5 separate regions of the Homo sapiens genome follow, and all the other regions are linked to region 5. Evidence: promoter capture Hi-C in human tissues and cell types (Jung and others, 2019). All regions are on one chromosome and are shown on one strand. Each heading gives the region's core, a stretch centred on a gene start or on the middle of the fragment in contact. The rest is flanking DNA. Distances are from core to core; before and after follow the strand shown. Region 1 holds the start of CEP85 (centrosomal protein 85). Region 2 holds the start of CNKSR1 (connector enhancer of kinase suppressor of Ras 1). Region 3 holds the start of MAN1C1 (mannosidase alpha class 1C member 1). Region 4 holds the start of SH3BGRL3 (SH3 domain binding glutamate rich protein like 3). Region 5 overlaps STMN1 (stathmin 1).

Evidence for each region. Contacts are between HindIII fragments. The study calls those that stand out against the background at their distance.
Region 1: the fragment with the promoter of CEP85 here is called in contact with a fragment that was not itself captured in region 5 in 2 of the 25 tissues and cell types used here (dorsolateral prefrontal cortex and hippocampus).
Region 2: a contact is called between the fragment with the promoter of CNKSR1 here and a fragment that was not itself captured in region 5, in 1 of the 25 tissues and cell types used here (dorsolateral prefrontal cortex).
Region 3: a contact is called between the fragment with the promoter of MAN1C1 here and a fragment that was not itself captured in region 5, in 1 of the 25 tissues and cell types used here (dorsolateral prefrontal cortex).
Region 4: a contact is called between the fragment with the promoter of SH3BGRL3 here and a fragment that was not itself captured in region 5, in 4 of the 25 tissues and cell types used here (bladder, dorsolateral prefrontal cortex, lymphoblastoid cells and 1 more).

What each region holds. Positions count from the first base shown.
Region 1 is chr1:26,230,241-26,236,077 of GRCh38, reverse strand. It overlaps CEP85 (centrosomal protein 85), which reads right to left and starts at 1,878. Exons shown (of 14, transcript NM_001319944.2): 1 at 1,768-1,878. RefSeq lists enhancers at 1,010-1,059, 1,150-1,209, 1,530-1,679. The HindIII fragment of the contact is 8,629 bases long and covers 337-5,837 here.
Region 2 is chr1:26,175,228-26,180,703 of GRCh38, reverse strand. It overlaps CNKSR1 (connector enhancer of kinase suppressor of Ras 1), which reads right to left and starts at 3,213. Exons shown (of 21, transcript NM_006314.3): 1 at 3,105-3,213; 2 at 94-251. The coding sequence starts at 3,156. The HindIII fragment of the contact is 12,765 bases long and covers 1-5,476 here.
Region 3 is chr1:25,614,684-25,620,095 of GRCh38, reverse strand. It overlaps MAN1C1 (mannosidase alpha class 1C member 1), which reads right to left and starts at 3,305. Exons shown (of 12, transcript NM_020379.4): 1 at 1,759-3,305. The coding sequence starts at 2,298. RefSeq lists silencers at 3,080-3,369, 3,390-3,679 and an enhancer at 3,870-4,039. The HindIII fragment of the contact is 13,132 bases long and covers 1-5,412 here.
Region 4 is chr1:26,276,060-26,281,729 of GRCh38, reverse strand. SH3BGRL3 (SH3 domain binding glutamate rich protein like 3) reads right to left here and starts at 1,644. Exons shown (of 3, transcript NM_031286.4): 1 at 1,527-1,644; 2 at 798-965; 3 at 208-672. The coding sequence starts at 1,574. The coding sequence ends at 607. It overlaps CEP85 (centrosomal protein 85), which reads right to left. Exons shown (of 14, transcript NM_001319944.2): 13 at 4,970-5,195; 14 at 2,922-4,594. The coding sequence ends at 4,437. RefSeq lists enhancers at 349-1,235, 1,236-2,123, 4,674-5,670 and silencers at 1,363-1,812, 1,289-1,860. The HindIII fragment of the contact is 5,211 bases long and covers 211-5,421 here.
Region 5 is chr1:25,897,943-25,903,524 of GRCh38, reverse strand. It overlaps STMN1 (stathmin 1), which reads left to right. Exons shown (of 5, transcript NM_005563.4): 4 at 1,843-2,034; 5 at 2,438-3,409. The coding sequence ends at 2,509. Among named protein-coding and RNA genes, the nearest start is that of STMN1, 5.7 kb to the left of the region's middle. The HindIII fragment of the contact is 6,597 bases long and covers 1-5,582 here.

The DNA.
Region 1 (5,837 bases), core at 629-3,128, 330 kb before region 5:
GAGATCAAGCATGGCACCACAAGTTGGAGTTTCTGCCTCAGACAGCTAGAGCTGCAAGCCTCAATTATATGAGCAGTAAAAGCTCATAAAATTTCTTCACTTTGTCCTTGGTCATCACCTAGGCTTTATTTCTCAAGTTGCTACCCAAGAATTAGATTTTGACTGCCGTAAGTATTTTTCCCCTATAAGAATTACAATCTAAGTGTGGCCGGGCGTGGTGGCTCACGCCTGTAATCCCAGCATTTTGGGAGGCCGAGGCGGGCGGATCACCTGAGGTCGGGAGTTTGAGACCAGCCTGACCAACATGGAGAAACGCCGTCTCTACTAAAAATACAAAATTATCCGTGCATGGTGGCGCATGCCTGTAATCCCAGCTACTCGGGAGGCTGAGGCAGGAGAATCGCTTGAACCTGGGAGGCGGAGGTTGCGGTGAGCCGACATCGCGCCACGGCACTCCAGCCTGGGCAACAAGAGCAAAACTCCGTCTCACAAAAAAAAAAAAAAAAAAAAGAATTACAATCTAAGTGTGGAACATCATGCTTGGCAGCTGTTAAGAGAACCACATCAAGACAAGAGAGGATTTGAAGGGATACACAGACAGCTGACACAGACACACGAAGGATCTCACACCATTACACTATTTTCACCGCCTTGATCATTCATTAAACCTTGTGAAAGAGAAGCCAAATCCTTGACAAGAAGTTGCCTTTACAAAGAAAAGTCGTGAGACATACAAAACCACCAGATCACTATAAAGCAGACAAGGTTTGAGGGCAAATAAATGAGGCCTGGCTAGCTTCATCGTCCTTGTATCACCACCGCCCCCTACTTATCCCAGTGTTCAATTCATCAACCGAAATTTACTGCGTGCCTACTATGCGCCTGGCTCTGAGCCACGTGTTGGGAATGTACTGGTGTAAAGGATCGCTCTCATTAACTGAGGTGAAGTAAGCGTTGAATATACTGTTGAACAAATAAACCTGAACACACTAACTTTCAGTTCAACCAAAGCACCAGCTCCTTCTCGCTGAAGGAAGCTTCCTCACCTTCCGCCCTACTGACATTTTGGGGGATTTTTCTTTGTTGTTGGGGGCGTCCTACACACAGTAGGCTGTGTAACAGCATCCCTGGCTTCTTCGCACTAGATGCCAGTAGCAAGCCCTGGAGCTGTGACTATCAAAAGTGTTTCCAGACATCGACCAATGTCCCCAGGGAAGCAAAATCGCCCCGGCCGAGAAGTACCGGGGTAAGGCCCCGCCAAGTGCTTTCCGTCCCACAACCTTAATTCTCTACACAGCCTTCCAATCTCGGCTCAAACTTCTCCTCCTCGGGGAGGGCTCCCTGACCTCTCCGACTAGATCCGCGCCTTCTGTTTTGCGCTCTTTGTAAGATTTCTCCACTCTACCCTCACTGCGCGCCGAGGGATTACCCCGCTTAACGTCGACTCCCAGGGCTGTGCGCTCCGCAAGGGCAAGGAATGCGCCGCTCGCTGTGTCCCTGGCTATCGGCACAGGGCCTGGCACGCAGGTAAAGTGACTGCCGTGGGGTGAACCACGGACGGCAAAGCAAGGCAACGGGGGAAGCGAGGGGAATGGGACGCGAGAGGGCGTATGCCGGGGCACTGGCTTCGGAGCCGAGGCGCATGCGCTTCGCTCTCCCCGGCCCCTCACGGTGGCAGGTCGCGAGCGTCTGAGGCTTCGCCGGAGCTATGGGAGGAGAGGCAAGGTCGGCCACTAGGACTGAGGCTCCCGAAGGAGGAAAACTTACACGGGCCTGAAAGCGGGCGGCGAAATCCCTCACTCGGGAAGACTGACTGCAGCCACCACGTCTGCGGTGAGCGGTGGTTCCCTCCCTCAGCTCCTCTAACGGCCGTTGCACGCCCGCCAGGCCGCGCGCCACAGAACGCGCGTCGTTTGGCCCCACCCCGTTCTGCCGCCTCTGGCCAATCGGGAGTCGAGCCGCGCCGGCTTCCCGCCCCTTTCTATCCTCTTCTGACCAATCGGCAGCCGAGCCGCGTCGGTATCCCGCCCCCACACGCTACCCTCTGCTCAGAGAGCCGGACGGATCTTTCTGCGCATGACCACGTCGCCACTTGGCTCCTTCTCTGCCCCTTGCCGCGTTTTACCTGTAGGTGGAGCTCTGCTCACCTAGACCTGGAGGGGCCCTGCTGGGCCTGTGCAGGTTGGGAAGCTGGCGGCCCGCGGGCGGGGCTGGGGACACGAGAATCCCACTCAGCTTGCCTCACCCTCCTTCCATTCCAACGCCGGTCTATCAGTTCTCACACCTGAAGCAGGGGTTCAGGTTGTGACCAGGAGTTAGGGTGTGGCCTGGGTCACTGACTAGTCAGGGTCAAGGCTTGGTCTGGGTTGGACGCAGTGGTCAGCCTGTGACCAAGGTTCAGGTTGAAGGGTAAAGGATCAGTCCTGCCTCCCTCCCCAAACTTGGTCCACAGGAAAAGGAACTGTTAAGTCCATTTGCATTAATATGCGCTTGAAGAGTCAGACAGGAAAATTGTTTGAAAGGAGAACAGAACCATCAGCCAAAGGAATGAATCTCAGATAGTGAAATTCTGGGTATCTAGAAACCTGACTTGGCAGGGAGAGATACTAAAAAATTGTATAGGAGGCCGGGCGCGGTGGCTCATGCCTGTAATCCCAGCACTTTGGGAGACAGAGGAGGGCGGATCACGAGGTCAGGAGATCGAGACCATCCTGGCCAATATGGTGAAACCCCGTCTCTACTAAAAATACAAAAATTAGCTGGGTGTGGTGGCGCATACCTGTAATCCCAGCTACTCGGGAGGCTGAGGCAGCAGAATCGCCTGAACCAGGGAGCCGGAGGTTGCAGTGAGCCGAGATCGTGCCCCTGCACTCCAAAAAAAAGTTGTATGGAAAAAAAAAGTTGTATAATTTCTTAGCTTTAAGAGCCAGACAAAGTGAGTTCATTACTGAATAAAAGTCACTCTAGAGGAAAGACCCTAGGGATGTGCCCCAAGGTTGTATCCTTTGTCCTCTCTTTTAGTATTTTAAGATAAGAATATAGAAGACATAAAATAGCAGATTTAATGGATAATGAAAATGAACCTGGGTATGATATGAAATTAGGACCAGAAGCCTCTGTTAACGTAAAGGCTAAAAAAAAAAATGTTAAGACAGGGTGTCTAAATGAATAAATTTATGGACTGAAGGGTAGAAAGCTAGAAAGTGTTAGTCCTGGCCGGGCACGGTGGCTCACGCCTGTAATCCCAGCACTTTGGGAGGCCCAGGCAGGTGGATCACTTGAGGTCGGGAGTTTGAGACCAGCCTGTGGCCAACATGATAAAACCCTACTAAAAATACAAAATTAGCCAGGTGTGGTGGTGGGCACCTGTAATCCCAGCTACTGGGGAAGCTGGGGCAAGAGAATCACTTGAACTCAGGAGGAGAGGTTGCAGTGAGCCAAGATCACTGCACTCCAGCCTGGGCAACAGAGCGAGGTTCTGAAAGAAAGAAGGAAAGAAGGAAAGACGGAAGGAAAGAAGGAAAGAAAGAAAAAGAAAGAAAGAAAGAGAAAGAAGAGTCAGAAAACATTGAAAGGCTTCCATTTCTTTTGTGAAAGGCATATGTGAGGAGGGAGGGAACAGGGGCATCTAGAGGACTGAGAAGAATTAGGAAGATGTGAATTGCTGATACAGAGGATAGAAGAGAAATCCGACTGGAAACATAGTGGAAGTGTTGAGATTTAAATTTACAAATAGCAAACAGTACATTTGTACAGTTCTTTGTAATAGATATCTATAGTTTAAAAGTAATTCCATTATCTACTGTCAATTTTCTTTTTTGTTTTGTTTTGAGACAGAGTCTTGCTCTGTCACCCAGGCTGGAGTGCAGTGGCACGATCTCAGCTCACTGCAACCTCTGCCTCCCAGGTTCAAGCAATTCTCCTGTCTCAGCCTCCTGAGTAGCTGGGACTATAGGCACCCACCACTACACCCGGCTAATTTTTGTATTTTTAGTAGAGACGGGGTTGCACCATGTTGGCCAGGCTGGTCTCGAACTCCTGACCTCAGGTGATCTGCCCGCCTTGGCCTCCCAAAATCCTGGGATTACAGGCGTGAGCCACCGTGGCCGGCCCTACTGCCAATTTTCAAATGTGAATGACTTGTCATATGTATATATATACATATATGCTAGTCAGGGTTATTGCACAGTCTGAGGCTAGGGTCAGGGCTTGGTCTGGGTTGGAGGCACTGGTCAGCCTGTGACCAGGGTTTAGTTTGAAGGGTAAGGAATCAGTCCTGCCTTCCTCCCCAAACTTAGTCCCCAGGAAAAGGAACCATTAAGTCCATTTGCGTTAATATGAGCTTGAAGAATCAGACTGGAAAATTGTTTCAAAGGAGGAACACACACACACACACACACACACACACACAGACACACATGCATTTGAGAAGGAGTCTCTTTATGTTGCCCAGGCTGGGCTCAAACTCCTGGGCTCAAGCTATCCTCCCGTTCAACCTCCAGAGTAGCTGGGACTACCAGCATGTGCCACCACTCTCAGCTCATTTATATTTTAACAGAGACTTTTGGTCCTAGTTTCAGAGAATATTCATGACCAACCTCTTTAGATATATTCTTTGTTTTTTTCTGAGATGGAGTCTTGCTTTGTCGCCCAGGCTGGAGTGCAGTGGAGCGATCTCGGCTCACTGCAACCTCTGCCTCCCGGGTTCAAGCGATTCTTCTGCCTCAGCCTCCTGATTAGCTGGGACTACAGGCGCACGCCACCATGCCTGACTAATTTTTGTATTTTTAATAGAGACGGGGTTTCACCATGTTGGCCAGTCTGGTCTCAAATTCCTGACCTTGTGATCCACCCACCTTGGCCTCCCAAAGTGTTGGGATTACCGGTGTGAGCGCCTGGCCAATATAAGATATTCTTAAATTGTCAGTTACATTATTATTTTTAAAAGACTAGCTGGATGTATTAGTCTGTTCTCACGGTGAGAACAGACTAATGTTCACTGGGTAAGACATACCTGAGACTAGGTAATTTATAAAGGGAAGAGGTTTAATTGACTCACAGTTCCACAGGGCTGGGGAGGCCTCAGGAAACTTACAATCATGGCAGAAGGGGAAGCAAACACATCCTTCTTCACATGGTGACAGCAAGGAGAAGTGCCCAGCAAAAAGGGGAAAAGCCCTTTATAAAACCATCAGATCTTGTGAGAAGTCACTTTCATGAGACCAGCATGAGGGCAACCGCCCCCATGATTAAATTACCTCCCTTCAGTTCCCTCCTATGACACATGGAGATTATGGGAACAAGATGAGATTTGGGTAGGGACACAGCGAAATCATATCACTGAATATTTTAATAAAATATATCAAGTACACTGACTTAATGACTGAAAAGGGACAGGGTTAGTCCAGATGTGACCCACCTCAGTATAAAAAAAAAATTGCAACTTAGTTACAATCATATAATTAGAGTTATCACTTTCATATGCACTGTGTGGTCTGGTGGATTATTTTATAAGCATCTATTGTTACACAGCACTGAGGCTTCTTTAACATGGTCAACTAATTTAGTTTAAATGCAATAGCTTCCTTGTTTACTTAATTTTATTTCATTTATTTTCTTTTTGAGATATTTAAGCGGAGTCAATATTTTGTCCTTATCCTTCAAGATATATATGTATATATTTTTTCTACTTCCCTTCTTCCCTCAGGATATATTTTATCTATTTATTTTTGAGACAGAGTCTTGCTCTGCCACCCAGGCGGGAGTGCAATGGCACAATCTCGGCTTACTGCAAACTTCCACCTCTTGGGTTCAAGCAATTCTCCTGCCTCATCCTC
Region 2 (5,476 bases), core at 1,964-4,463, 280 kb before region 5:
AGAGGGCAAGTCACCTCCCTGGCAGCAGCCAGCCCCCCATCACACCCCCCAGGTTGGTGGAAGCTGCAGCCAGTGTGACCAGCATTCACTCACCAGGGCCTGGAGCTGTTCCACCCCGCCCAGGATGAGCTCCTGGTGTCCCAGAGACCGCACAGCCAGAGCCTCGAGGCTTTGGGGGCAGAGCTGGAGCAGGTTCTTGCCAGGCAGCTGCCAGTCCTCAAAGGGATAGTCCTGCAGGGAGTCGTCAAGACCTGGAGGGAGAGTAAGGCTCAGCTCGGGGAAGCAGAGGTGTCAGGACCTTTTGGGATGGTTCTTCATGCCTGCAAAGCTCTTTTCCCTCTAGTCTAACCCTAATGACAACTCTGACACCCAGGCTGTTCTGCCCATTTCACAGATGAGGCCACTGAGTTGAGAAGCAGGAAAGTATAGGACATGGGTTCTTAAAAGTGGCCCCCAGACCAGCAGCAGCAGACTCACCGGAGAACTTGTTAGAAATGCAAATTATCAGGCCTCACCCCACACCTGCTGAATCAGAAACTCTGAGGTTGGGGCCCAGCAGTCTTTTTTTTGTTTTTGTTTTGTTTTTTCTTTTTGAGACAGGGGCTTGAGACACAGTCACGGCTCACTGCAGCCTTGACCTCCTAGGCTCAATCCATCCTCCCACCTCAGCCTCCCAAGTAGCTGGGACTACAGGCACACACCACCACACCCAGCTAATTTTTGTATTTTTTGCAGAGGTGGGATTTCACCATGTTGCCCAGGCTAGTCTCGAACTCCTGGGCTCAAGCAATTTGACTGCCTCAGTCTCTGAAAGTGCTAGAATTACAGGTGTGAGCCACGACGCCCAGCCAGCAGTTTGTATTTTAATGCAGGTGACTGTGATGCTCCCTTAAGTTTGAGAACTAATGATACAGGGGATAAGAACAAGAGGCTATGGAGTCACTGAGACACTGTGAACACTTGAGCAAGTAATAGCACTGCTCTGTGCCCAGTTTTCTCACCTGTAATGTGAGAATAATAAAAGTACCTACCTTCTAATCATGTGTGTATTGAATGACACAACATATGTCAAGGCCTTGGCCACTGTCTGGTTCGTGGGAGACAGCCAATAATAGCCATCATATTATTATTGCCAGACTTTACCATGACCTACAGGCCCTGTATGATTAGGCTACTACCTCCCTTTCCAGCATCATATCCTGAAGAGCCCCCTAAACTCAACATTTCAGATGCACAGAGCTAATTCCTTGCAGCTCCTGGAACACCCTTTTACCTCAGCGTCCTTGCAAGTGCTATTCCTCCTGCTGGCGTTGCTCTTCTATCTCCTTCACTTCCTTTTTCATCTAACTTCCTCCAGGAAGCCTTCCATAACTTCCCAGGCTGAGTGGGATGGAGGGCTCTCCTCTTGTTCCCACTGCCCCTGAGCCTCCACAAACCCCTGCACTTGACCATCGGTCTTTCCCATTTTATCACAGGCTCTTCAAAGATCAGGCCTTAGATAACCATTTGTCTCTAACCCCCGGCCTGTGCCTGGACAAGGTAGGCACTGAAAAATAAGAAAAGTGTCTATTGAGGGCTTACTATGTGCTATGCAAATCTATAAGAGCTTTACACATATTAACACATTTGATTCTCACTGCATTTCTAGGAGGTAAAGACTATCATTATCCTGCTTACAGATGGGAAAACTGACACAGAGGTTAAGTAGCTTGCTCACTCTTCGAAGGAATTCTTCCCCTTCTAAGCCAGGCTCCTTCACTGGGGGAGGTGTGTGTGTGTGTTCCCTGTGTCACATTGAGAGCACTGGACTGGGAGTTCATGAACCTATCACTCCCTGGCTATGGGCCCCTGAGCCACCTCCTTCCTGCACGGTGACTGTATTGGGCTGGTGCCCTCCCAATAGACCCAGGCATTGAGCTACAAATGAACTATGTCATGATTGTCTCACTTTGTCGACTTCATAAGGTCAGAGTTGCCTTTCCCATTTGATGGACAGAAAAACTAAGACCTATGGTCACAGAGCTGGCAAGCGGTGGGGGTGGGCCTGGAATCCAGCCTGGGAGTCTGAACCCAGCCCTGAATTCCTGCCCTTACCCGGGCTGGTCCTCCTGAGCCTGTCTCTAGTGCGCTCCAGCTCCCCACTCTGGGAGGGGTGTCCTGACTGCCTGCTCCTGGTCGCACTGTGTGTCAGGAGGCCCTTCCTTCTCTGAGTCTGCCTGTGGGGTGTGTTGCTTCCCATCTGTGTGGGCTCGCTGAGCCTGGACAGCACCTTGCCCCTTGGATAGGAGCCCCAGGGTGGGGCTGTGTCAACCTCTTCAGTCTGGCCTAGGGCTTCTGCTTCTGTCACTAGGAGCTCAGGGTGTGGAGCGGGGAAAATGACACCAGAGACTGAGCAAATCATTTCCTGGCTCTGTGTGTCAGTTTCTGACTCTAAGAAACGGATTTAACAACAGCCCACTGGCCCTGGGGCCAGGGAAGATGAAGGAGATACAGTGGGTGTGGGCCTGTCAGGCCTCCCTCCTGTTTTCATGACACCGCCTCCCCATTATCACCCTAGAGGCCTCTTGGGCTACTGCCATGATGAGGGGCCCCCTTCTGGGTCCTTGGGCCCCCCAGGGTCATCTCATCTGTCTCTCTGCCCAGCACGGTTCCTGGAACATGTTAGGTGCTCTGTAAATATTTGTTGACTGACTGACCGACTGATAGAGCCCGCAGTTTATTATTTTTTTTTTTCTTTTGAGCTGAATCTCGCTCTGTCGTCCAGACTGGAGTGCAGCGGTGCAATCTCGGCTCACTGTAACCTCTGCCTCCTGGGTTCAAGCGATTCTCCTGCCTCAGCCTCCCAAGTAGCTGGGATTACAGGCACCTGCCACCACCCCCAGATAATTTTTGTATTTTTAGTAGAGACGGGGTTTCACCATGCTGGTCTTGAACTCCCGACCTCAGGTGACCCACCCACCTTGGCTTCCCAAAGTGCTGGGATTACAGGTGTGAACCAGCGCACCCAGTCCGCAGATTTTTTTTCCTTTTCCTCTCCTCCCGCTTCCCGGTGGGACACCACACCTAGTCCCCTTCAAGCCCAACTCTACCCCAGCCCCACCCACCTCTCAGCCAAGTTGCCACCTTTCCGGGGGTCCAGGTCTCTACCGGTTCCATGGCCCAGCTCTGCCAGCTCGAATCAGCTCCTGTTTTGCCCTGCTGTCGCCGGAATTTCCGCTCCCAGAGCCCAGGCCTAAGGAGGGGCCGGGCTGGGTCCTGGGCGGAGCCTACTGCATACCTGGGCTCACACAGACGGCAAGATGAGGCACTGCGACAGCCATTGGCCCACGCCCGTCCGCCTCCTGCCCGGCCCTTCAGACATCCTAGGGCTCTGGCATCTCGCGCCTGCTAGGGGGCAGTGCCACTGGCCTCATATCGCGGGGTGGGACCCTGACCCTTGGGCTCCTCAAGAAAAAGCCACAAGAGGAGCGCTGAAATCAGTAGCAAAGCACAGAGGCTAGGGGGCCAGGTCCCTGGGTGCCTAGGCCAGCTCTTGTTAGCTGTGTGACCTGGGGCTGACCCTAACTTCTGCGCCTCAGTTTCTGGGTCTGTAAAAGAGATATAATAGACCGTACTTCAAAGGGCAGCTGTGCACAGTATCTGAATGGCTTGAAAACATTTAGAACTGGGGTGTTTAGCCTCCCTTGGATTTTGCAGTATGGACTCTGGCATCTGGTGAGGCCTGTGAATGCTTTCTCAGAATAGCTGCTTATAAAGGCATAAAACAGGCCGGGCGCGGTGGCTCACGCCTGTAATCCCAGCACTTTGGGAGGCCGAGGTGGGCGGATCACTTGAGATCAGGAGTTCAAGACCAGCCTGGCCAATATGGTGAAACACCATCTCTACTAAAAATACAAAAAATTAGCTGGGCGTAGTGGGTGCTTGTAATCCCAGCTACTCAGGAGGCTGAGGCAGGAGAATCCCTTGAACCCAGGAGGGGGAGGTTCCAGTGAGCCAAGATCGTGCCACTGCACTCCAGCCTGGGCAACAGAGCAAAACTCTGTATTATAAATAAATAAATAAATGCACAAAACAAAATGCTTAGGATTACAATGAGAACAATTATCAAAACTATATTTAAAAACAAATTTGGCCGGGCATGGTGGTTCACGCCTGTAATTCCAGCACTTTGGAAGGCCAAGGCGGGTGGATCATGAGGTTAAGAGATGGAAACCAGCCTGCCCAACATGGTGAAACCCCGTCTCTACTAAAAATACAAAAATTAGCTGGGTGTGGTGGTGCACGCCTGTAGTCACAGCTACTCAGGAGGCTGAGGCAGGAGAATCGCTTGAACCTGGGAGGCGGAGGTTGCAGTGAGCTGAGATCACGCCTCTGCACTCCAGCCTGGCAACAAAGCAAGACTCCGTCTCAAAAAAAAAACCCACAAAAAACAAAAAAAAAATTTGGAGCTGGGGAGTGCTGGCACACGACTGTAGTCCCAGCTACTCGAGAGGTTGAGAGGTTGAGCGGGGGAGTATCACTCAAGCCCAGGAGTCAAAGCCACCCTGGGCAACATAGCAGGAGCCCATCTCAAAAAAATAAAACCAGAAATTTATATTATGTGTTTACTAACATTAATAAGACTGGCCGAAAGTTAAATTTTTCTTTTTTAATGACCTCAGTGTGTTGTCGACCAGCTTGAATAAGGACATTAAACTGTGGGGTGGTCTTTGACGCCCCTCCTCTTACATATTGATCAGCAAACAACTAAAAACAGGGAATGCTGGGCCGGGCATGGTGGCTCACGCCTATAATCGAGACGGGCGGATTATGAGGTCAGGAGATCGAGACCATCCTGGCTAACATGGTGAAACCCCGTCTCTACTAAAAATACAAAAAATTAGCCAGGCATGGTGGCGGGCGCCTGTAGTCCCAGCTACTCAGGAGGCTGAGGCAGGAGAATGGCGTGAACCCAGGAGGCAGAGCTTGCAGTGAGCCGAGTTCGCGCCACTGCACTCTAGCCTGGGCGACAGAGCAAGACTTCGTCTCAAAAAAAAAAAAAAAAAGACAGGGAATGCAGAAGAGTGGAGAAGCCCTACTCAGAACAGGCAGATTCGCCCTTTGGTCACTGAACCACTGCTAAGCCTGGAGGTAACCAATTAATGGCGGCTACATCACAGGAGCATCTGAAACAGAAGTTGCTCACGAACAATTTAGTGGTGGTTTAACAACCACTGTGATTTTGAAATCACTTGAGCATAAATATTTTGAGATACTTGCAATAACTACAATTTGATATGAAAATATGTGATTTCTATTGGTGACTAAGCCAAAGATACTGCTACTGCTTCAATCCATATAGAAGGAAATCATAAATTTTGGTTAGAGTTTAGCAAAAATAAAAATATAATTTTTTCCCATCCAAGTTTATGGATCCCCTGAATTCTGAACCTCAGAGCAAGAGCTTTAATCTTAGAAAAATATCTGACACATAGTA
Region 3 (5,412 bases), core at 2,056-4,555, 280 kb after region 5:
AGAATCAAGTTCCCTACTAGCCAGCCCTTCCTTCCTGCCATGACTCTCCAGCCCCTGGCATTCGGAAATGGACCACCATCTAAATGCAAACACAGAGAGTATCTCTTCTGAGGAAGATGATAGTTAATTCTTAATCCTTTGGGGGATCAGTTTGAAAATCTGATGGCACCTCTGGATGCCCCATGAAAAACTGCATGCATGCAATTTATATGTAATTTCACTGGGGGTCACTGCCCTACTGGGAGGTCGAGAGGGGCAAAAAGAGCCACTGTGCTCAGAAGCAGCTTTGAGAAAGAGCTATGGGTGGTCCAAGTGAGTATTCAACAGCGTAGTTCCTTAACAAGAAAGGGAGAAATGAATGCCCCTTACTTAGCTACTGCAAGTTCCAGCTGTCACTCAACCTGAGATTTCAACAGGAATCTGGAAACTGAGAGCACACAAACATGCACACACACATACACACCAAGCACTCAGTTTCCCTGTGGCTTCCTACTGTAACTTCACAAAATGTCCTGTGATTGCTAGTTAAGTCTCCAAACAGAGTAACAGAAAAGATAAGAAGTGGAAGAGAGGTGGGCGCTGGAAGGGAGGATGGTTCAGACAAGGAGAAGGGGATAATCTGGCTAAGCCCTCCATCGGCTCTGAGCAGGTCTTGACAGGGCAGGTCCTGATCCTTGCTGCCTGCTCTTCCTGGAAATCAGGGTCGAACTGCTGACTTCTTCGCAGCAAATCAAGAAGTCCAGGCAGAAGCAGCCCTTTCTTTCCTTTGAGTCCATGGGGAGGGGAGAGCATCCTCTCGTTTCTAGGGAGGAGACCCTGGCCCACAGCTTGCCCACGGCCCCCTCGTGGCCTGGGGGTGTCACTGCAGCCCCCTCTGCATTGCTGGGCACCATCCGCACGCAGGCAGTTCTAACAGTGGTCCAGCAGAATATTTAGTGGCAGTGGCAAGCTGGCAACTGTCTTCAAGCCTTGTGAGGCTGTGTTTGCTTTTGATTTCTTAAACTAAGACTCAGACTTAAAGTGATCCTTCTAAATCCCTCCTGGTACAATCCCTACAGGGAACCAGCTCAAGATCTGCTTCATTATGCCAATAACCTCGGAGCTTCTGTAATATGACCACTGCTTTATCATCTCTTCCTGCATCATATGCAATTATGTACAATTGTGTACAATTGTTCTGAAGCTCAATAAGCTCAATAGAAACAGAATGCACAACATCCTCTGGTTTGTAGGTTGCTTACTAGATTACAAAATATTTGCAGGACACCAAATACCCCCTTAAATCCTGGGTTTTTAGGTAAGCAGGTCCTATAGGGGTTTTGGACTTAAGGTCACACAGTGAAAAAGAATGGGACCAGTGGCTCTGTGTCCACAAATGCAAAAAGAGGGTGCACTAAGGAACCTGAACTCCACTCTCATTAGCAACTCCACAAAGGGAAGGAGTGGAGCTCACTGGGCCTGGGGGTTGGATACGACATACCAGAGTCTGGGAGTGAGGGGGCAGTTGGTCTAGGGGTTCAGCTGCCATCTGTCACGGTGGGGACGATTAACTGACCCGAGTGGTGGGAAACTGTGTAGGGAGGAAAGAAGGTGGGACATTTGGGAGGAAAGGGGAAGGTGCAAAGTGCAGTCTGCAGGGCCAGAAGTAGACCTGGGACCAGGAGTGACTGAGGCAAGGGAAAGGGGTGGGAGCGCCAGAGGGTCTTCTCTCCTTAGAGGGGGCAGTTGGTGGGAGGAGTTTGGGGGCTGAGTCCATACCTCCTTGATTTTCTCCCGCTGGGCTCGCACTTGGCTCTGGGGCTCCTGACTCTCATCGGCCCTCGTTCCCAGGACCGGGTGGCGGAGACGGCTCCGGAATGCGTTGAAGTCAAAGCGGAAAGGGACGCCCTCGTCCCCGGGCCTGGAGGCCGGGATGCTATTGCCCCGGGCCGCCGTGGCCTCCTCGCGGGGTCCAGTGGGGCGGGTGCGCCGCAGCCCCCCTTTCCTGCGGCGGGGACTGGCCCAGCTGCTGGGGTCATCCTCGCCCGGGGCCGGCGCGGCGGGGGCCGGGTTGGGAGGCGGCTCCTGCTCGCGGGCCGGGGCATGGCCGGCGATTTCAGCCACCACTTCCAGACCAGGCTGCTGGGTCCGGGGGGCCAGGAAGAGGCGCTTGAGGCGAGAGGAGTGGGGCAGCAGGAAGAGGGCCCCGAAGCACAGGGTGACCAGGCCCGAGAGGAAGAGGAGGAAGAGGAACTTCTGCGGCAGCCGCAGCCCCCACGGGGAGGCCGGGACGAAGCCGGGCACTTTCCTCATGAGCATCGTGGCCCGGCCGGTGGCTCCAGAAGCCCTCGGAGTCCAGGCACGTGTCTGCGGGGGCGCGGTGAGGGGAGGGCGTCCGGAGCGCCGCCCGGGATGGGGGTCCCTGGGCAGGGTTGCCAACCCTGAGAGTTTCGCCGCTTCGGGGGACTGTCCCCGAAGTTCAGGGAGTTTGGAGCGAGTCCTCCCGCGAGGAGGCGGGGGCGCAGCGGCCTCGGCGGGGCCCGGGCGAGCGGAGCGGCACGGCTTGGGGCCCGGGCCCGCAGCGACCGGCCGCGCGCCGCAGCCTCCCCTCCGGCCGAGCCCTCCCCGCCGCGCCGGGGCCCGCGCCTTCCCGCGCTGCGGCCGCCGGGACCGTCACATGCCGTCCGCGGCGTCCCGGCTGTCCGCGCCGAGGGGCGCCCGCAGGCCCGCACCAAGCCGCCCTCCGCCCCCTAGGCTCCCGCCCGCGCTGGTAGGCGCCCAAAGTTTCAGCTTCAGAAGCAGTTTCCGGAGGGGACCGAGGCGATGGGGGGCTGGCGTGTCAGCGCCGCCCCGAGCGCGCGCACACCCGGCCCGGTCGCGACAGCGCCCGGGCTCGACTATCGGGACACGTCCACAACTTTCTCCGCCGCGGAGAGGGCGCCGGGAGCTGGGAGCCGGAGTGGCCAGGGAGCAGGAGCAGGCACTTCCGAGCCTGCGGGGGCAGGGGGCTTCCCCCGGGCCCCAGACAGCGCAGGGATGCCTGGGTCCGGAGCCGCGGCTGGGCGGCTGCAGATGCGCCCGGGAGCGCGGGCTCCCGCCCCTCGAACTCGGCAGGGCGCGGGGCTCCCACTGGGATCACCTGTTCCCGGCCCCGCCGGCTCCGCGGAGCGCGCAGCCCTGGCCGCGCCTCCCCCGCTGCAGCTGTCTTCCTCGCAGCGGCCGCTCCAGACCGGCCGCTGCCGCCGAGCCTGCGCCCCACACGCGCGCACAGCCACCCGGCCGCCTCCACCGCCGTCCCCGCCGCCGCCGCCGCTCGGGCTTTCACTGCGACAGCGCCCGCCGCCCCGCCTCCTGCCGCCCGCCGGCCACGCCCGCCGGCCACGCCCACGCGCGCGCCCCGCGCCCCCTCCCGCCGCCGCCGCGCCGCAGCCGGCTGAGGGCCGCGCGTCCGGGGGCGGGGCAGAGGCCGAGCGCGGGCGGGAGCGCAGCCCGCTCCAAGCCCCGCCCTCCCCGAAGGGCAGGCGTCGCGCGCACCCCCCATCCAGCGGGCGCCAATGGTCCAGCGGCGCGGGGCAGGCGAGGGCGGGGGCGGAGAGCGCAACGAGGGCATTGGCTGCATCCGAGGGATCCCCGTTGGGCCACAGTCGTCCATTGGTTACTGCCCAGCCTTCGCTGGACCCCAAGCGACAGAGACCACCCCCCAGCCCGCCCGCGAGGCTCGGGTTGGTGGCCCCCGGAAGCGGGCCGGAGACGGTGTTGCTCTGGAGGGGTGTGCCCGTCGCTGGGTGACCTCTCTCGCCCCCGAGTGCCAGCCCGGGGTTGTCAGGGAGCTGGCAGCCCGCGCCCTGGCGGCTGCCCCGGGCTTCTCAGCGCTAACGCCGGGCTGCAGGGGTGCTGCTGGTGGCTGGAGCCAAGCCAGAGAGCTGTGACCGCGGCCGGGTCGGCGGAGGTGATGTTTCCACTGGCCCCCTCGCAGACCACTGGCGTGCCTTCCTTTTCCCACAACCCTAAACGGGGCCAGGGCTCCTGGGTGGAGCACGGAGGGAGGCTGACCGCAGCCTTGAGAAGCAGCGAAAGGAAGAGAGCCCCGGGCGTGTCTACAGAAGACCACACACATAATGTGACGGACGTCTACCTTGATGCCTACGTGTGTTTATATGCACATGTGTGCGTCTGGGCATAGATCTATATGCACACAGAGACTGGCATGTGGGTGTGTACATGCACTCAAACATACACTTAATTTGGGTATGGACACCCAAGTGATTATACCACAGTATGCATAGACATATATGTAAATTAGTACAAACATGGACATGTGCACCCGCATACCCACAGACACTCAGGCAACAGATAACCTCCAAAAACAGCCAGGCATCAACTCCCAGACACGCGTGTCCTCAACCCCAAGGCCCTCACATCTTCCTCCTTGGACTTAGTCTCTGCATCTTCCCTTCCTGTTAAACCTAACCCAGGGTGAAGCAACATTGTGCTGTGTGGGTCTTTCATGCAAAACACTTTATAGAGACAAATAACAGCAGAGGGAGAGACAAATTAAGAGGTTTGTAATAGGCAAGAGGGAAAATATCTACTTTCAGCTGCAATTTAAAATGAAATGCAGTGTTGACGAGACAGAAAATACTGCAGGGAAGCCTTTCCCGACAGAAGAAGCGGGCCAGGCAGGCTCTCGCCTCGTAAATCTTGCTTCTTCCCTGAGGCCTGCTGGGGATGGGCGGCTGGGACTCAGTCATCCTTCTACCTCTGGCCAGACCACTGACAGCAGACCCACCCTCGATGTTTAAATATCCCTGGCATGCAACTTTCTCTCAACTGAAAATGAAAGTGGGTAACAGGTGCAAACATTTTGGTCACTGGAGATGACTAATCCTTCCCAATCCCACAAATATATGCAGCTTAAATATAAAATTCTAATTCAGATATTTCAATCTCTTGTGAGTTTCGTTGGCAGGTTGATGTGGAGCCAGCTGTGCAAATCAGAGATAAGCATGTGACCCATTTGGGTGCAGGAGCCCAGAGACCTGGCCTGGCCTCACCCATGTCTCCAACACCCAAGCATCGCCTCACTGGGTCCCACTGCAGGAAAGGGCAACCTTGTCTTTGGAGAACCAGGCAGGGACCCAGCATTCATTAGAGTCATCATCTGTGTTGTTCCTCATTGAGAGTGTAGGGGAATCACTGTTCAGTCCCCTGTGAAGGTAGGATCCAGAAAGGGAGAAGAGCAGAGCTGAATCTCAGAAGGAAATGTCTGTTTGAACTAGATGCTCACTGTGATGTGACACTCTGACCAAACTCTGGTGTGCTCTGTGAGCCAGGGTGGAAAGTGGGGCTGCAGCAGGACTGACGTGCCTTTCACACTCAGGCTATGAAAACCAGAGGCCCCAGCAGGTAACTCCATTGCAAAGTGATGTGATG
Region 4 (5,670 bases), core at 395-2,894, 380 kb before region 5:
ACCCAGACATCTCCAGAAACCACTGGTCCATACAGGTATTTGTGTGTCAGACATATCCAAACACATGCACTAACAAACACAGAGGTGACAGTCACAAGAGAACAGCTCAGCCACCCTTCCCACAGAGCAGTCTCAGCACAGTCACAACTACCAACCTTGCCCAGGGCAGGGACCCAGGAGGCCCAGGCCACAACCAACCAGACACAGTGCCAATGGAACAGGACATCATTTAATTGCCTCTAGGGTCCTCCTGGGAGAGGGACTGCGGGGCCTTTGGCAGAGCTCTGGCTGATGGAACCAACAGAGGTGCCCATCAGCCAGTGCCAGGCAGGATGGCGGCCCCAATGCTTGGCTGGGGGCAGCCAGCATTTGGGGCTGTTGCTTAAGACAATTTCTGAGACTAATGGGTAAGGAATGTTGCCTTTAGATGGAGGAGAGGGGACTACATTTAGAGAGGAGGGAGGAGAAGTGGCCTGCATTGGGGGAGGGACTCTAAGGTTAGGTTAGGAATGACAGGGAGTTGGTCAAAAGGTCCTTCATGGCCAGGTGAAGGCTGGGGGGAGTGTGGTGATGGAGTCCAGCAGGGGAACTCTGGACAGGCTTGACTCAAGCCAGCTTCAGGAACTCCTGCAGCGTGTTTTGTTCCACAGCCTCCACGAAGAGCTCATAGTCCTGGAGAAGGGGAGGCGAGGGGTGGTCACCTGAATGCAGGGGGCCCAAGTGCTTTGTGGCAGATATGACCCTGGCTAGAGTCCTCTTCCAACACTCCCCCCACCCCCCCGTCCCCCAGCCCATACCCCACAGTACTGGTCCCCGTTGACAATCTGGGGTGGGGTGGCCTTGGGGTTGCCTGCCAAGGCTCGCATCTCATCCCTCAGGGCGTTGTCCTGGGAGATGTCCACTAGCTGGTATTGGATGCGCTTCCCATCCAGGATTCGGGTCACCTCGCTCTGCTGGGACTTGATCTGGGGACAGAGGGTGGGTAGGGGTTAGTGGATAGGCTGGAGGATTTATGGGGGAAATGCTGGGCAGGGTGAGAGAGGCTGTGACCAGGAGCTTTTGTCCCCCCATTCCCCTCCACACTAGGGGAGGGTTCTGGCCTCTAGGAGTTGGGAGGATGAGTCAGGCTTGAGGTGGTGCAGGATGAAGAGAGGGATTATCAGCCACGGGGGAGGGGGTCAGAGTGAAGGGAAGTGGGATCAGGCTCAGGGTGGGGAGGGGAGGGGAGGGCAGGCTGCGGTCGTGGTCAGGGTCAGCCCGGTAGTGGGAGTGCAGAGAATGGGTGTGGGGTTGATGGGGGATGGGCACGGGAAGTTCATGCCGCGGCTGCAAAGGACCCAGGATGCCCGATGAAGACATTCAGGATGGGGCCTCGGGACCGGGTCCGGGAGACCGTGCCCAGCACCTCGCCGACGCACTCCCCCCACCCCGCCCCCGTCCTGGGGGTGGGTCCCGGGCGCTAGGGTCCAAAGCACCGGGATACAGCCCTGCGCTTTCCCCCAGCGCCAGTCCGGGCGCGCACTTACTTCGCGGGAGCCGGTGACCGACGTGCTGTAGACGCGCAGGCCGCTCATGCTGGGGGTAGACAGACGGGCCGGCGGGCAGAGGGCGGCGGTAGCGGCAGCTGCACTGCCGGGAGACGACGCCGCCGCCGTGCTCGGGAGCGGTTTCCTTCCTGCTCCGCCCGCCAAGTCATCGCGCTCGGGACCAATGGGCGGCGCGGGCAGGCGGGGTGGGACCTGCGCGACACCGCCCCGCACGCCAGAGGCCCCTTCCCTTCCCCCTCGGTTACCAGGCGCGCAACGGACCCGTCCCACGCAGGGCGCCCCTTCTGCGGCTGCCCTGATCGTCCTTTTCGGCCCTTCCCTGATCTGGAGCTCAGTGTGAGACTGGGGAGGGGCCTGGGTGGCAGGACAGGCCCGGGAGAGGGTCTGGCAGAAGCCTCCCTCTCCAGCCGCACACAGGTTTGGTGCATCCAACTCCCCAGCCACGAGAGCCGCTCTCTCCAGGAGGAGGTGCTCTAATAGCACAGGGAAGCTTGGGGCTTTGGAAGGTTTGAGCTGCTTTCAGACCCAAAGTTCTCTAAGAACCTTGCTCCAAGGGATCCCTCGCTCCACCACCCAACACGCACCACTAACCCTAGGGGATAGGAAGCATAGGACAGCAGGAAGAGCCCATGCTTAGAGATTTTCCCCCAAGTTCCTCTCCACTCAGGTGGGAAGGTTTAGACAAGGAAGGGTGATAGCAGGACGCAGAGGCCACACCCTCAAGGAACCAGATGGAGACCAAGGCTGACAGCTGGAAAGCGTGGCGGTAGAGGATGATGTCAGGACTCGAGAGCCTAGGCTCAAGCTGACCCTTAAGATCCACCCCAGGTCTTGGGGTGGTCCAAGCTCAACCCCAGCTCCATGCTGCAGATGGCATTCCCAAACTGCTACTACTCCCAGCAAGAATTCAGCGGTTGAGGGGGCAGACTCCAGCAACGAGCCCAACTTTGGAGACCTAGCTGTCTGGCACTCAACATCATGCTTCTCAGATGTCCCCCTGGTCCAGGGCTCAGGCAGGTTAACAGCCCAGAAAGACAACCCTTGCTCTGGTAAAGCCACTTCCTCACAGCAACCCAGAGGCTGCCAACTTCCTGAGAGGACTGCTGAAACTTTCCAGTGACAAACTTCTGTTATGACTCAGGGAAGGTTTGCCCAAGAGAAAGTGAGTGGGAAGAGATCTGGTTCTATAGAACGACAGAGGAGCAGAGGTGGCAGAGATAGATAGGGACATGAGGCTGGCTGGACCTGCCAAAGGTTCCTCCACGCTGCTGCCTGGGGGACCTGGCTGAACACCCAGGTGTTTGGCTCTAACAAGCCAAAGTGAGGGGTAGAATAGCGTGGTGGTGGTGATGGAAGGGTATGGAAAACTGAGGAGTCTGTTAAGATACTTTATTTTATAATCAAAATACGCAATACAAACAAATGGACATAACAAAGATTCATATAAATAACTGGTTATAAACTTTATGAGGAAAAATACCCGTCAGCATGGTGGCTGGGCTCCCAATGCACAGGGTGGAGACCAACCAGGCGGCTCTGCCTTTAAGCAGCAGGAGCCCAGAGGCTGAAGGGCTGGCTGGGTGGGGCTGCTCTGAATGGAAGGGATAAGTCACTCCATAAATAAAACACAAACTTGTAAAAACACTTAAGAAAGAGCCTCATTCAGGCCCAGGCATGAGGTCCAAGATGCTGCCAACAGCCCAAAGCTTAGCAAAAATCTTGTAGTGGCTGACTGGCCCACACGTGGCCCCTGCCTGGCCTGGCTCCAGATCTAGAGGAGGCACGGCTGGCCCAACAACCAGATACTAACAAGTGTGAGATGCTCCCTAAACCAGGAGGCAAGAAAAACCAGAGGGCAAAGGTCCCTCACTAAAGCCCCAGAGAAACAACCCAGGAAACACTAAAAGCTGTACTTTAAAGCTGACTTGTACTGGGTACTCTGAACTTTCAAGGAGGCCAGAGCAGGAAAGGGAAAGGAATAACCCCCACCACCCCCAACACAAGAGAGGCACAAATTAGAGGGCTGGGCACAGGCTGTAGCCCTGGGTGAGGGGGTAAGCAGCTTGACAGTTGCTCTGTGGTCTCTGGGATATAATTCTGCCCAAGGCTAGAACCACAGAGAAGAGTTTGCACTCTTAAGTCCAGGAAGGGGACTACCTGGAAGGCCTGAGAACAAAGGAGAAAGTTTAGCACACTAAACACATGGCCAGGACCCTAGGGACACAAGGCAGCTGGAGAGTGGGATCTCTTGTTAAATGGCATGGTAGGCAGATTAGAGTCCTGGCTATAATCCCTAGGGCCCCAATCCTAGTAGTTACGTGCTAACCAACACATTACCCTGAGGCTTCTGGGAGAACAAGAGCCCTGAGGAAGAAGCAGTAAGACCAGGCATGAGAAAACCCAGAAAGCCAGCTCAGTTCCCAAGAAGGCTGGCACATGGGGCCTGAGAATTCTTAAATGGCCATTGTCACTGGTACTTGCTCAGCCTTTCCAGGCCCCTCTGATGAGCTCTCTAATCAGCAGGACCAAGGTGTGAAGTGGGAATGAACATGGATCCATCCCATTGGATGGAGAAGAAAGGTGGACAGCCTGTTCGTCTCTCATGTCAGCCTAGGGCTGGGAACAGTTTGTGAGGACTTATCTGTTGTACCTGCCAAAAGTTAATTAGTAACTCACCGTCTAGAGTGAATTAACAGGACAAACGTAATCCAACATGCCAGTGTGGGTAGGACACAGTTCCCTAATCAGCCCTTGGCCCCCAGATGCAGGCTCTCCCCTCCCCTCTGAGACCTCTCTGGGAATAGCAGACAAGAGAATGTCAGGGCAGAAACCTGCTGGACTAGGCTCTCAGCAGCCCAGCTCCTCCCTGGGGGAATCCCCCAGAATTCCTCACTGTGTGACACAGTTTTCTCCCATGTCCTGGGCATATCTGTCTGACATGGTGGTCCTTAAGTCCTCAATGTCACGACGCAGCTGTTGAACCTCTTCTAGTTTCCTCTTGATCACATCTGGCTTCTGCAAATCTAGCTGAGTCTCTGGGTGCTGTGCTGCTGGGGAGAAGAGCATTTCAAGAGAATGTTAGTTATGAGACATTTTCATGTGGAGGGTGCAGTATGGATAGGCAGTATCTTGAACCCACAGTCTTGGGACATGCACTTTAAAAAAAGCATCTGGGGACAGTGGGTTAATTTGCTGCTGAAGGTCCACTTTTAGTTTGTCCTGCATGCAAGTACCCCATAGCTTGTTTCCAAAAACAGATTTGTGAACACCTACTTTGTGAAACAAATAAATGTCCAGAGGGCAGTGGCCAGGACTATGTACTCTGTCTACATATTACCACAAGAATATGGGAAAGCAGGATGGGGGAGAGAAGAGAAAGAAGGACCCTCCTTCCTGGGCCCCAGACTGGTCTGAGGACTCACAGTGAATGCCCAGGAGCAGGGAGAGATTGGGGTCATGGCCCTGGGCCCTCTGGGTCACAATGCTACAGACAGCCTGCAGATCTTGAAGGCAACTGGCCAACTCCTGGTGCAGCTCAAGTGCCAGCTGGGCCGTGTCTGGTGAAGGTGGAGACCCTGGTTGGGCCTGGCGCAGGTGTTCCTGGAGTGTCAGATTCTTCTCAATCAAGTCCTGGTTTTGCACTGAAAGCTGAGCAGACAGATGGGTAAGCACATTAACTCAGGCCCAGGGAGAGGAAGAGTATCTGTGCATGAGTGTGTGGGTGTGGAAGGGATGGGTGAGTCATAGGCAGTGTCCCTCCTTCCCCAACCCTACCCCTGCCAACAGGCTTTTAGCACTTCTCCCACTATCAGTATCAGGCCTGGTTCTTCCTGTGGGTAGGTTGGGCCCACAGGGCTCTAGCACTGGAGAGGAAGCCAACCCTCAACTGGTTCTGAATCATCAGCATCCAAGTTTCTGTTCAAGAACCAGAGAAGATGCTCCCGCCCCTAGGAACTCTATCTCAAGCCAGTCCCTCAGCCAACTCTGTTAGCCAGGCTATTAGAGAAGGCTTAATGTGAACCGTGAAATCTGAGGAGACACTGGTTTCAATCTCTCCCTGCCACCCTGACAAAAGTGGCCACCAGCCAGCCTGATCACAGTGTGTCAGAGGAATAAAGAGAGT
Region 5 (5,582 bases), core at 1,599-4,098:
CAGTGACTGGAAGGAAATACCAGTCCTCATTTATTGAACTCCTGTTACATGCCCGCTCCTTTGTTTATATTTTTCTCCTTTAATACATGGTGTTGCCTCAAATAATGGAAATTAGAAACAGTTTCAGGAATGTTAAGTCGTTTTTCTGCAGTCATACAACTAGTAAGTGTTGGGGTCAGAATTCAAGCCCTGGTCTATCTTAAACCAAAGCTCATGCTTCTCTCATGCTTCCTCTTTGAAAAGATTTGTTGCCAGATGATTCTTTGGCACTTTGGTTTTGTTTTTTGAGAGCTGTACAATAACATTTTAAATTGCTAGTGTGATTGTGTTGCTCAGCTGGTATCATGGTAGCTTTTCTCTTATCTAAACAATTCTATTATAAAGTAACTATCTTTAAAAGCTAATCAGAAGAATCAATAAATATTAATATGCTAGTTGTAGAAAATTTGGGAAATACAGAAATTTATAAATGGAAATTAAAAGTATTCATTATCCCGCTTCCGAGAAGCAACCAGTGTTAACATTTTGGTGTGTTTCTTTCCATTCAATGTTACTCATTAACAACTGTACATAACTTTTCATTTAACTCCCTTTCTCAACAACCCTGATAGGATTGATTTTAAAGCTGGGGCAAGTGAGGCACAAAAGGTAAGGTAATAACCTTCCCCAGACCAGCATAGTGATTTGTAGTATACACACACACCCGCCCGAAGAGCCTCAGTGCTTACACTAAGGAGTCGTCTTCTATGCAATAGTGTGAGTTCATGGAGTAGGAGGAAGCAATACAACCAAAGGTTGGACAGTGGAAAGCTTTTTAGACATCAACCCTGGCCCTGTAGTCATTAGCCTGTGCTTTACATAGTAACTGGCTAAATATAATGAAACTCCCATCATGACTAGGATTTGGCAGAAGAGAATCAATAGAACCAGTGTCAGATGCTCTGTGGTTATCCTGCAAGTCAGTGGTTCCAATGTGTTTTGAGAACAAGCTGTTCTGTTGAAGGGGTCATACCAAGGTATGGTCTGGTAATTAATGCAGTTTCCTGAGACAAAAGCTAATAAGCCTTTTCCTTGAAACAAATTTTTCTGTCTTAAATAGTAATCTACAGACTTAGTCTTGAATTTCCTATCATTGTTTTATCAGTTATGGTTAAAATTTTTACAATGAGCTAGTTTTCTTTGGGTAGCTTTTGAAGTTAAATAGTGAAATTCTTTACAATAAAAGTGCCACTCGCAAGTACATATTCCTCAAGTCATCCAGATACCATTAAGCAGTAAATCTTACAAGGATTTCCTTAAGGACTAATTGGGTAAGATTTCTGAACAGATAAGCACTTTTCCAAAGTTAAATACAAATACTAGAAAAAGAATATCATTTTCACAGTATTTTATGATAGGGATAATTCAGGTCCTAATTTTGGTGTTATTTAAAGGGACCTTATTTTCTGCCCCTTTTCAATCCCCTTAGTAAATTATTTTTATTGTAATTTTAACTTATGCTGAATACATTTTATTTTTTGAGGCAGAGTCTCTGTCACCCAGGGTGGAGTGCAGTGGCACGATCTCAGTTCACTGCAACCTCCACCTCCCGGGTTCAAGCAATTCTTCTGCCTCAGCCTCCCAAGTAACTTAGACTACAGGCACCCGCCACCACGCCCGGCTAATTTTTGTATTTTTAGTATAGGTAGGATTTCACCATGTTGGCCAGGCTGGTCTTGAACTCCTGACCTCAAATGATCCACCCACCTTGGCCTCCCAAAGTGCTGGGATTACAGGCGTGAGCCACCACACCCAGCCTGAATACATTTTAGAGTGCCTAGCCTATTAAACTTTTTTTTCCAGTCCCATGAAGCTGAGGTCTTGAAGCAGCTGGCTGAGAAACGAGAGCACGAGAAAGAAGTGCTTCAGAAGGCAATAGAAGAGAACAACAACTTCAGTAAAATGGCAGAAGAGAAACTGACCCACAAAATGGAAGCTAATAAAGAGAACCGAGAGGCACAAATGGCTGCCAAACTGGAACGTTTGCGAGAGAAGGTTGGTTTCTTACTTTGTAAAAGGGTTGAGCTTGGAGTTTGATGCACCAATGAGTTGGCTTGAACTAAGTGCTTTGATAAAAGGTGTTTGGTGTCTTTTTGTCATCCATTTTGGGGCTTAACATATTAAATGAAAGGTATATTTTAAGATGGAATATTCAGTAATTCCCAGCATAATTGCACAGTCCTTGGAAGTCCAGTAGGCAGCTTGTTAGGTTCTACAAGGGACCCAGGAGATTTGATGATGATGTCTCAGAACTTAAATTGTGTGGTTCCCACAGGCTGTAATATATGCACTGAGGTTGTGTTGGGCCTCTTTGAGGTGGGGGCTGGGGGTCGTGACTTGACAGGCTTTTTTTTTTTTTTTTTTTTTTGACTGATGACACCTTACCCTTCCTTTACAGGATAAGCACATTGAAGAAGTGCGGAAGAACAAAGAATCCAAAGACCCTGCTGACGAGACTGAAGCTGACTAATTTGTTCTGAGAACTGACTTTCTCCCCATCCCCTTCCTAAATATCCAAAGACTGTACTGGCCAGTGTCATTTTATTTTTTCCCTCCTGACAAATATTTTAGAAGCTAATGTAGGACTGTATAGGTAGATCCAGATCCAGACTGTAAGATGTTGTTTTAGGGGCTAAAGGGGAGAAACTGAAAGTGTTTTACTCTTTTTCTAAAGTGTTGGTCTTTCTAATGTAGCTATTTTTCTTGTTGCATCTTTTCTACTTCAGTACACTTGGTGTACTGGGTTAATGGCTAGTACTGTATTGGCTCTGTGAAAACATATTTGTGAAAAGAGTATGTAGTGGCTTCTTTTGAACTGTTAGATGCTGAATATCTGTTCACTTTTCAATCCCAATTCTGTCCCAATCTTACCAGATGCTACTGGACTTGAATGGTTAATAAAACTGCACAGTGCTGTTGGTGGCAGTGACTTCTTTTGAGTTAGGTTAATAAATCAAGCCATAGAGCCCCTCCTGGTTGATACTTGTTCCAGATGGGGCCTTTGGGGCTGGTAGAAATACCCAACGCACAAATGACCGCACGTTCTCTGCCCCGTTTCTTGCCCCAGTGTGGTTTGCATTGTCTCCTTCCACAATGACTGCTTTGTTTGGATGCCTCAGCCCAGGTCAGCTGTTACTTTCTTTCAGATGTTTATTTGCAAACAACCATTTTTTGTTCTGTGTCCCTTTTAAAAGGCAGATTAAAAGCACAAGCGTGTTTCTAGAGAACAGTTGAGAGAGAATCTCAAGATTCTACTTGGTGGTTTGCTTGCTCTACGTTACAGGTGGGGCATGTCCTCATCCTTTCCTGCCATAAAAGCTATGACACGAGAATCAGAATATTAATAAAACTTTATGTACTGCTGTAGCAACTCCTGTGAAATGACTAAAGGGAACCTTAATTATTTCTAAAGTAGCATTTGACTCGGGTGGTTAAGGTTGGCAGATACGTCATCTTGTATCCAGAGGCTGTAATAGTCCCCATTGTCAGTGCTTTGCCTCTCAATTCAGGGAACGCCTTTGGCAGCTTTCCTGTGCTATTTGAGAAATAGCCTAATTATACATATTTTGTGCCTCTCAGACATCTGTATAAAAGCTCTTGGAAGCCAAGCACTTATAGCAAAAGATGATTGCTAATACTGCGGTGGGGTCCATGTGTTGCTAACGCATGTGCCTCTGCTGCTTGGGCTGTATCTTGAGATTGGGGTTTTACCAAACTTATTCATGAGAACAATAACAGCCTACCTCAACTTACCTCCTAAGATTGTTAGGATTAAATGGGTTTGTGGCAAGAGAGCACACTTAGAACATAGATATTTAGCATTCCGTATAAATCACGATTACTGTTTTCAACCAGAGGCTAATGAGTGATCTAAGTTTATACTCTTGAGTTGGAAATTATGCAGTTTTTATATTCCTTAAATTGACTTTTAAATTTACTTAAATGATCAATCAGAGGAATTCTGAACAAAGCTTGGTTTAAGGAGTTACGCCCATGTAGGGCAAATAGGAGCAAGTGCAAGTATAGTTGAATACAACAATAGGTTCTGAGCAATATCTAAACCAAGAGGACAGGATGAGGCTTGTGTGCAGTGGTGCAGCACAGTTCATCTTGGCTCCTGTCTCTGGCACATAGCAGGTGCTCTGGGATCTTTAAAATACCAGTTCTGAATAGATGGGAATATAAAGAGGGCCTGAGGGTAGAAACTTGGCATAATGATACGAGGTGTCCTACAAGTGGCAGTGAGCTTTTGTTCATCTAAGACATTTAGGGAGGGAAACTGGCCTCAGGAGAAAGCAAGGGAAGGATCAACAGGCCTGAAAGGATGCCTCATCAGTTACCACCCATCCCATGGTGGCCCTGACTTCCTATCAGAGGGCGATCCTGAGCCCCTGCCTTGTGACAGGCTTAAGTCACAGGAAACTGAAGGGGATGCATCTTACCACAGAAATAGAAGCTCTGGCTTTTCTATTTCACCTTGACCTTTGGAGAAGCACTTAGTCCTGGGCCCCCATTTTCTCCTGGATAAAATGAGATGGTTGGGGGAGATCAGTTAAGTAACTTTCACTCCCCCATTCTTTGCATCTGGCTTGGAGTGAAGAGGAGGAGCGGTGGCACCTACGAGCTTCTGGGGAAGTGTCTCTGGGTATGCATTCCCGGGCCCGGCATTCTCTGCCATCACGGGAGTCTGCGTCTGTCCCAGTGGGGCCAGCCTCTCCCAGCAGTACTTCCAATAGATTGGCCTAATAAGGCCAGAGTGGTTTGACAAGCAGTTGGGGCTGTCACCAAGGAGCAGACTCCATTCCTTTTGTCTTGAATGGAAAATGAGGCTTGTCCCTTCCTGAGGATTTTGTACTTGGGCCTTATGGTTGACTGGGCTCAGTGGAGAGAGGTTTGAAGGACGTGAAGGAGGCCCTTAAATTAACATTTGACAAGCACCTAGATTGTGCTCCACACTGGCCTTTGCGCTAGGGATGGAGAAAAGATGGGGTGGGACCAGCATATCACGTGCCCATGTGAGGGGAAGGAGAGCTGTAGAATGCTTACTTACCTGAGGGTGAGGCTCTCGACCACATACTTGTACTCACCAGGGTGCTTTAGTGCTTTGGTGAAAGGAGTGACCACAGAGGGCTTTGTGGTCTGGGAAGCTTTGAGAGGAGAAAGGACATGAGCTTGTCCTTTTGGAAGTCAGATGAACCTTCCAAGCCAAACCCCAATAAAGCACTTAATTGTTAAACACTTAGTAAGCCTGTGATTGCCACGTGCACAGAGAACCTGCCATAGTTAATGGCCTTTGGCAGGCCCTCCAGGCAGGCCCCCTCCCCATTTTTTTATTCTAAGCAGTGGAGGCTCTTTGAAGGCTTTTGAATGTGGGGGGCTGCAGTGGTCAGTAACAAAACCATTTTAAGGAAGAGAAAGTGGAGGCAGGGTGAGTTGACTGGAGAGTGGCTGCCGTTCAGGCTACGGTGGCCATGGTGGCTGTTGGGGCAGCACAGGGATGAGGTGGGAGGGCCTGCTGGGCTCTGGAGCAATCCATGTGACTG